2 separate regions of the Homo sapiens genome follow, and region 1 is linked to region 2. The links are contacts of gene promoters, found by promoter capture Hi-C in blood cells and fetal thymus (Javierre and others, 2016). All regions are on one chromosome and are shown on one strand. The core of a region is centred on a gene start or on the middle of the fragment in contact, and the rest is flanking DNA. Distances in the headings are between cores, read along the strand shown. Region 1 has its middle 11 kb from the start of ZNF785. Region 2 holds the start of MYL11 (myosin light chain 11).

The links. The method cuts DNA at HindIII sites, captures the fragments that hold promoters and counts their contacts. A CHiCAGO score of 5 or more calls a contact.
Region 1: a contact is called between a fragment that was not itself captured here and the fragment with the promoter of MYL11 in region 2, in 2 of 17 cell types (erythroblasts and fetal thymus). The highest score is 6.7, in erythroblasts.

Annotation. Positions count from the first base shown.
Region 1 is chr16:30,594,125-30,598,479 of GRCh38, reverse strand. No RefSeq gene overlaps it. Among named protein-coding and RNA genes, the nearest start is that of ZNF785, 11 kb to the right of the region's middle. The HindIII fragment of the contact is 4,017 bases long and covers 1-3,263 here.
Region 2 is chr16:30,372,298-30,376,255 of GRCh38, reverse strand. It overlaps MYL11 (myosin light chain 11), which reads right to left and starts at 1,454. Exons shown (of 7, transcript NM_013292.5): 1 at 1,396-1,454; 2 at 344-436; 3 at 36-111. The coding sequence starts at 1,398. The HindIII fragment of the contact is 3,476 bases long and covers 672-3,958 here.

The sequences.
Region 1 (4,355 bases), core at 6-2,505, 220 kb before region 2:
TTACAGGCGTGAGCCACCGCTCCCAGCCAAATCCCATCTTTAAAAAGGAAAAAAACAGCAGGAGCTTCCTGTTCCTCCCCTATGATGCAACTCACTGTGTGTCTAGCATCCATCTGGGCACATCCCACATTGCCCCTGCAGGGGGCAGAAGGGAACCAATGCAGGCATGCTCATGCTGCTTGTTGTGCCCTGAACAGTAAGGTCTTTTGTCTCTGTTTTCTGACAGCATCCATGAAACAATAACAGACCCATTTATTAACCTATAAGTAGGGCAGCCTCAAATTCCAGATCTGACTGTAGGTATTGTTTTCCTTGACCAGATGAGGAAACAGAGGCACAGTGACATTAAATAGCTTGTCGACCGGGCACAGGGTGCACGCCTATAATCCCAGCACTTTGGGAGGCCGAGGCGGGTGGATCACCTGAGGTCAGGAGTTCGAGACCGGTCTGACCAACATGGTGAAATCCCGTCTCTACTAAATGCAAAAACATAGCCAGGCATGGTGGCACATGCCTGTAATCTCAACTACTTGGGAGGCTGAGGCAGGAGAATCACTTGAACCCGGGAGGCAAAGGTTGCAATGAGCCGAGATTGCGCCATTGCACTCCAGCCTGGGCAACAAGAGCAAAACTCCATCTCAAAAAATTTAAAAAAAAATAAATAACTTGTCCAGGATCACATATCTGGGTGACTGTAAAGTCAGCTGCCATGCAATTATTCTAAGACTGTCCTTTAAGATAACTGATGACCTAGTTAACAAATCAGTGCTTCAATTTTTATCTTACATACCTTAGTTTTCCTACTTAAGCTCTCTTGTAACTTAGCTTTCATGCCCCGCATTCTTCTAGTCTTCCTGGTGCCGCTTGTGGCTTCTGCTAGTGCGTACATGTGAGAATTCCTTCCCAGCAAGAAAGAGTCTTGCTCTGTGGCCCAGGCTGGAGTGCAGTTGTGTGATCATGGCTCACTGCAGCTTCTACTTCCCTGAGCTCAAGTGATCCTCCTGCTTCAGCCTCCTGAGTAGTTGGGACCACAGGCATGTGCCACCACACCCAACTAATTTTTTTGTATTCTTTGTAGGGATGAGGTTTCTCCATGTTGCCCAGGCTGGTCTCGAACTCCTGGGCTCAAGCAATCCTCCTGCCTTGGCTTCCTAGAGTGCTGGGATTACAGGTGTGGGCCACCTCGCCCGGCCTTATGTTTTTTCCAAATCCCAAAAATAATCAGTAAAGAAATTGGGAAAATGCAAAAAAGTGATAATTATTTATTATTTGTTTGTTTGTGTGTTTATTCATTTATTATTTTTGAGATAGAGTCTTACTCTGTTGCCCAGGCTGGAGTGCAACGGCAAGATCTCGGCTCACTGCAACCTCTGTCTCCTAGGTTCAAGCAATTCTCCTGCCTCAGCCTCCCAAGTAGCTAGGATTACAGGCGTGCGCCACCACGCCCGGCTAATTTTTTTTTTTTTTTGTATTTTTAGTAGAGATGGGGTTTCACCATGTTGGCCAGGCTGGTCTTGAACTCCTGATCTCAGGTGATTCACCTGCCTCAGCCTCCCAAAGTGCTGGGATTACAGGCGTGAGTCACCACGCCCAGCTCATCTGTATATCTTCTTTGGAGAAATGTCTATATAAATCCTATGCCTGCTTTCATCTTTTTTTTTTTTAATTCTTTTTTTGAGTGGTGTCTTGCTCTGTTGCCCAGGTTGGAATGCTGTGGTGCCATTTTGGCTCACTGCACCCTCCACCTCCCAGGCTCAAGTGATTTTCATGCCTTAGCCTCCTGAGTAGCTGGGATTACAGGTCTGTGCCACAATGCCGGCTAATTTTTGTATTTTTAGCAGAAATGGAGTTTCATCATCTCTGTTGGCTAGGCTGGTCTCGAATTTCTGGCCTCAAGTGATCTGCCTGTCTTGGCCTCCCAAAGTGCTGGGATGACAGTGTGAGCCACCGTGCCCAGCCTCTTTGCCTGCTTTTAAATTGGGTTTTTATTTTTTAGTGGTTGTTGAGTTACCGGAGTTATTTATAAATTCTGAATATTAATCCCTTATTAGACACATGATTTACAAATATTTTCTCCCATTCTGTGGAGTGTCTTTTCATTCTCAATAGTGGTTTTGCTTTTTTTTTTCTTTTGAGATGAAGTCTCACTCCATTGCCCAGGCTGGAGTGCAATGGTGCGATCTTGGCTCACTACAACCTTCACTTCCCAGGTTCAAGCGATTCTCGGGCCTCAGCCTCCCAGAGTAGCTGGGATTACAGGCATGAGCTACCATGCCCAGCTAATTTTTGTATTTTTAGTAGAGATGGAGTTTCACAATGTTGGCCAGGCTGGTCTCAAACTCCTGACCTTAGGCGATCCACCTGCCTCAGACTCCCAAAGTGCTAGGAGTACAGGTGTGAGCCACTGCACCCAGCCACCATTCATTTTAAAAGTTTTGAAAGACACAGTAAAGTTGAAGGACTTTTACAGAGAATACCCATATACTCACCACCTAGATTCTATCACTAACATTTAGTGTATCTGCTTTATCATGTAACTATCAGTTACTCTACCAGTACACTTTGTTTTTGGGTGCATGTAAAAAAAATTGCTGAAATCAGTACACTTCACCCGTAAACATTTCAACATGCATATCATTAACTAGAGCTCCACGTTTGTTTTATATATTTTTTGAGTTAAAAGTACATAAAATGCACAAACTTTAAGTGTATATTTGCTGAGTGTTGACAAAGACGTATACATCTGTAACTGAAACCCCTATCCAAATACATAACATTACCATCATCCTAGAAAGTTGCCTCATGTGGCTGGGTACAGTGGCTCATGCCTGTAATCCCAGTAGTTTGGGAGGCTGAGGCAGGCAGATCACGAGGTCAGGAGTTCGAGACCATCCTGGCCAATATGGTGAAACCCCGTCTCTACTAAAAATACAAAAATTAGCTGGGCATGGTGGCATGTGCCCATAATCCCAGCTACTAGGGAGGCTCAGGCAGGAGAAGCGCTTGAACCAGGGAGTCAAAGATTGCAGTGAGCTGAGATTCTGCCGCTGTACTCCAGCCTGGCGACAGAGTGAGATTCTGTCTCAAAAAAAAAAAAAGAAAAGAAAAGAAAGAAAGTTGCCTTATGCCCCTTCCTAGTCAATTCCCATTCCCACCCCACCAGAGACAACTACTATTCTAATTAGTGTTCCCTGTTATAAAACTTCATATAATTGGAATCATACAGTGTGTATTTTTTTTTTTTTTTTTTTTTGTCTAAAGCTTCTTTTATTCAGCATAATGTCTCTGAGTCCTACTTCTTTTTAGACTTTCTTGAGTTCAGAGCTGGGAGAGTGCTCCCACATCAATAGAGTAGTTGACAAACTCAGAAATGCTCCTCAACAATGTTATCTGTGTTCATTTGTTACTGTAAGAAATTACTAGAAACTGGTGGCTGAAAACAACACAAATTTATCGTCTTATAGTTCTTCAGGTCTAAAGTCTGAAAATAGGTCTTATGGGACAATCAAGGTGTTGGCAGGGCTGCATTCCTTTTCTAGAGGCTCTAGGGAGAATCTGTTTCTTGCCTTTTCCAGCTTCTAGAGGCTGCCTGCATTCCTTGGCTAGTGGCCCCTCTCCAGCAACTGCATCACTCCACCTCTGCTTTTGTTGTCACATATCCTTCTCAGACTTTTACCCTCTTGCCTCCCTTTTATAAGGACCATTGTGATTACATTAGACTCAACAGGTTAGTGTTCCTAACTCAAAATCCTTAGTTTAATCACATCTGCGAAGTCCTATTTGCTAATATAAGGTAACACAATCAAAGGTTTTGCAGATTAGGATGTGAAATCTTTGGGGTCCATTATTCTTCTTAATTCATACATAATAACTATACATAAATATGGGGTATGTGGTGATGTTTCTATACATATGATGTGTAGTGATCAAATCGGGGCAATTAACATACCCATCATTTAAAACATTTATTATTTCTTTGTGTTAGGAACATTCAATATCTTCTCTTCTAGCTATTTGAAAATATATAGTATATTATTGTTAACTATAGTCATCCTACGGTGCTATAAAACACTAGAACTTATTCCTCCAATATAGCTAATAATTTTATGTCCATTAACAAATTTTTCCCTATCCCACCCTTGCCCCTACCCTTCCCTTTCTAGCCTCTAGTAACATCTATTCTGCCTTTTTTTTTTTTTTTTTTTGAGATGGAGTTTTGCTGTTTGGCCCTGGCTGGAGTGAAGTGGCACAATCTCGGCTGACTGCAATCTCTTACACCTGCGTTCAGGCAATTCCTGTGCCTCAGCCTGCCGAGTAGCTGGGATTACAGGCATGTGCCACCAAGCCTGGCTAAT
Region 2 (3,958 bases), core at 205-2,704:
CCTTGAATATTCCCACCTGGGGGTAGGGGGCTCACCCATGGCTGCGAAGGTGTCCCGAAGGTCCTCCTTGTCTATAATACCATCACGGTTCTGGTCGATCACAGTGAAGGCCTGGGGAGGGCCGTGGTGGGGAGGGTTAGGTCCCCCATGGCCCAGCCTCAGCATCCCTACCCCAGGAGGATCAGATGCTGGCTCTCAGCCAACTGTCCTCTTCCACCCCAAGCAGAGAGGGGAGGAAGGAATTCTAAACCTTTCCCCTCCTTCAAGCAGGTGCACATTCCAGGGAGAGGGCCAGCAGGGCTGCTTTTGGTCAGCCTTCCAGTTTCCCCGTCCCCTCACCCACCTCTTTGAACTCCTGGATCTGAGTCTGGTCGAACATGGAGAAGACGCTGGAGCTTCCGCCCTCTACTGTCCTTCTCTTGGCCCTCTTGGGTGCCTGGAGGGTGAGGGTTGAACAAAGGGGCCCATGGACCAGTCCCTCCACCTCTCTGGGGGCAATGGATTAAGAGTCAGAATTCTTCGAGTCCCTGTTCCTAAAGCAGCCCTTTGGCCTGAGTCTCCCCTTCCTTGGGACCTCTTTGCTGAGGGGGCTTGCTTTGATTGCATTCCCCAAATTCCCGTCTGTGGCTCCTGGGTCTCCAACTCTCCATCCCCCACAATGGGTGGAAGCTTCCTTATCTTCTCAGTGTCCTGAGCCTAGCTCCTCTGAGCCTCAGACTTGCTGTGTGACCCCAGCCACTCATTTGCCCTGTTTGAGCCTCTACTTTTCTTTTCTTTTTTTTTTTTTTTTTGAGACAGAGTCTTGCTCTGTCACCCAGGCTGGAGTGCGGTGCTGCGATCTCGGCTTACCGCAACCTCTGCCTCCCGGGTTCAAGCGATTCTTATGCCCCAGCCTCCGTAGTAGCTGGGATTACAGGCATGCACCACCACGCCCAGTTAATTTTTGTATTTTTAGTAGAGACGGGGTTTCGCCTGTTGGCCAGGCTGGTCTCGAACTCCTGGCTTCAAGTGATCCAACCACCTTGGCCTCCCAAAGTGCTGGGATTACAGGCGTGAACCACAGCACCTGGCCTGAGCCTCTACTTTCTCATTTGTAAAATGGGATGGGAGTTATTGCCTGGCTGGTGCCAGAGGGCCTTAGGAAGATGGAGTACAGGAATGAATGGATCAGGCTTTGAGAGGGACTGGGCCCCTGTGAGTTGAATGTCTGGGCGGATTATCATTGATTGGATCCTTTAGGCCATCACACAGTCTGTTTTCCATCAGTGATGCCGAGAAAGAGATGAGCATCCTTTTAACTTTTTGTTGGACTGGGAACCAGCTACTTTCTTTCAAAGGGTGAGGCTGCCCTGAGGTCTAAGGGATCTGGGCAGGGGTTGGAGGATTCTCACTCACCATGTCTTCAGTCTCCGGGGGGCAAGGCAGCGGCTCCGGCTGGAAAGAAGCAAGGAGTCAGCATGGGGCAGTCCCTCTGGGGTTATATAGTCCTGCCCCAGGGAGCCCTTAACATACCAAGGTAACCTTAGCCCTGCGGGTGCCCACCCCAGATACCAAAATAGCCCAACTCAGGGCCTCTCCTTTCTTGGAGGGCTGGCAGCAGCTGGAGCCCAGCGGGGAGGAAGGGGGGAGCATGTCTTGCGATGCATGTCTCACTAGGGCCTGGGCAAGAAGAGATGTTCTTTCTCCCAAAGAGGGGCTGGAATGTGCCAGAGTTTAGAGGGGACGCAACCCAAGGCATCATTCTGGGAGATAAATGAACCAGATCCTGTACCCCTGAGTGGGGTGGGCTCAGATTTAAACCCAGTAAACGTCTGGGTGCAGTGGTTCACACCTGTAATCCCAGCACTTTGGGAAGCTGAGGCAGGAGGATTGCTTGAGGCCAGGAGTTCAGGACCAGCCTGGGCAACATAGTGAGACCCCTGTCTCCCTTTTTTTTTTTTTTAGACAGTCTCGCTCTGTCTCCCAGGCTAGAGTGCCAGTAGTGTGATCTCGGTTCACTGCAACCTCCACCTCCCCTGTTCAAGTGATTCTCCTATCTTGGCCTCCCGAGTAGCTGGGATTATAGGTGTGCCACGAAGCCAGGCTAATTTTTTTTTTCTGTATTTTTAGTAGAGACAGGGTTTCACCGTGTCGGCCAGAGTGGTCTCAATCTTCTGACCTGGTGATCCATCCACCTAGGCCTCCCAAAGTGCTGGGATTACAGGTGTGAGCCACTGCGCCTGGCCCCCGTCTCTATTTTAAATTAATAAAATAAACCCAGTAAACATGTATTGAACACACACAGTGTGCCACGTGCTAGGCTGGGCTTTGTGGATGTACTTTGGCAGACACAATCCCTCCACCCCCACATGGTGGAGTTCATAGTCAAGTGTGTGTAAGTGTGAGGGTGGTGAGAAAGAGCCATCTGTGGAAGCTGAGGGATCAGGTGGGTCTCCTACCTCCCTTCAAGGAGAGGGGAATTTTTTTTTCTTTTCTTTCTTTTTTTTTTTTTTTGAGATGGAGTCTTGCTCTTGTCACCCAGGTGGGAGTGCAATGGTGCGATCTCGGCTTACTGCAACCTCCGCCTTCTGGGTTCAAGCGATACTTCTGCCTCAGCCTCCTGAGTAGCTGGGATTCCAGGCACCCGCCACCATGCCCAGCTACTTTTTTTTTTTTTTTTTGAGATGAAGTCTCGTTTTGTTATCCGGGCTGGAGTGCAGTGGCGTGATCTTGGCTCACTGTAACCTCCGCCTCCCGGGTTCAAGTGATTCTCCTGCTTCAGCCTCCCGAGTAGCTGGGACTACAGGCGCGTGTCACCACGCCCGCCTAATTTTTTTGTATTTTTAGTAGAGACGGGGTTTCCCCGCGTTAGCCAGGATGATCTCGATCTCCTGACCTTGTGATCTGCCTGCCTCGGCCTCCCAAAGTGCTGGGATTACAGGCGTGAGCCACCGTGCCCGGCATCTAATTTTTTGTATTTTTAGTAGAGATGGCGTTTCACCATGTTGGCCAGGCTGGTCTTGAATTCCGACTTCAGATGATCCACCCGTCTCGACCTCCCAAAGTGCTCAAAGTGCTGGGATTACAGGCATGAGCCACCGCGCCGAGCCAAGAGGGATTTTTTGAGGCAAGATGCTTTGTGGTCTCAGGTTTTGTGCTGGGCCTTGGTTTCCCCTCTGTAAAAGGGAGATGTAGTTCCCATCCCACAGAACTTGCCTTATAACTAATAGAGACAGGAATGAATGCAGAAACTGACATACCAGAGCTGGTCAGGAGCCCAGAAGTGGAGGGCGCAGCAGCCCTGTCTAGGAGTATGGGAGTGGCTTCACGAGGGCCAGGGAGTCAGGTGCAGGTGGAGGAGCAGATGTGCTGGGCGGAGGGCATGGCCTGAGCAAAGGCCTGGAGAGCGGAAGATCAGAAGTGTTCAGGTGGCCAGAATTGTGATGGGGCTGGTGACCAGCCCCTGAGGGGCCTTTGCCAGGCACAGGACGGAGACCCTGGGGAACCTTGGAAAGGTTTCATGCAGAAGAAGGATGTGATCTAGTATGAGTCTAGAATATTTTCTCTGGGTACTGGTGTGGAGGCTGGAACTCAAGAGGGGAGGAAAAGACCCTAAAAGGACAGCCAGCTGGTCACTTTCTGTGAGGTGCCTTGATAGCCAGTGGCAGCTCACTTTATTCTGGCCAAGAGCCAGCTTGGCTGATTGTGTGACTTTGATGTACCCTCTCTTCTCCCTCTGGGCCTCAGTGACCCAGTCCCCTCCATGCAGCAGAAGTCTGGAAAAATAGTGGCTGAGGAAGCCCCAAGTTGGCAAGGACAACCATCTCCTTCTCCTCCCGCTCCCTCTAGGACCCGATGTCCTGAGGAAGATGCCTCCCCCTGCCCTGTCCCCCCTCCTCCAGGCCCATGCCGATACCTCTAAGACATTTTCTTTTCTGGGCACTGAGGCCCCAGCCACCTGTTGTCTCTAAGAAGAGAG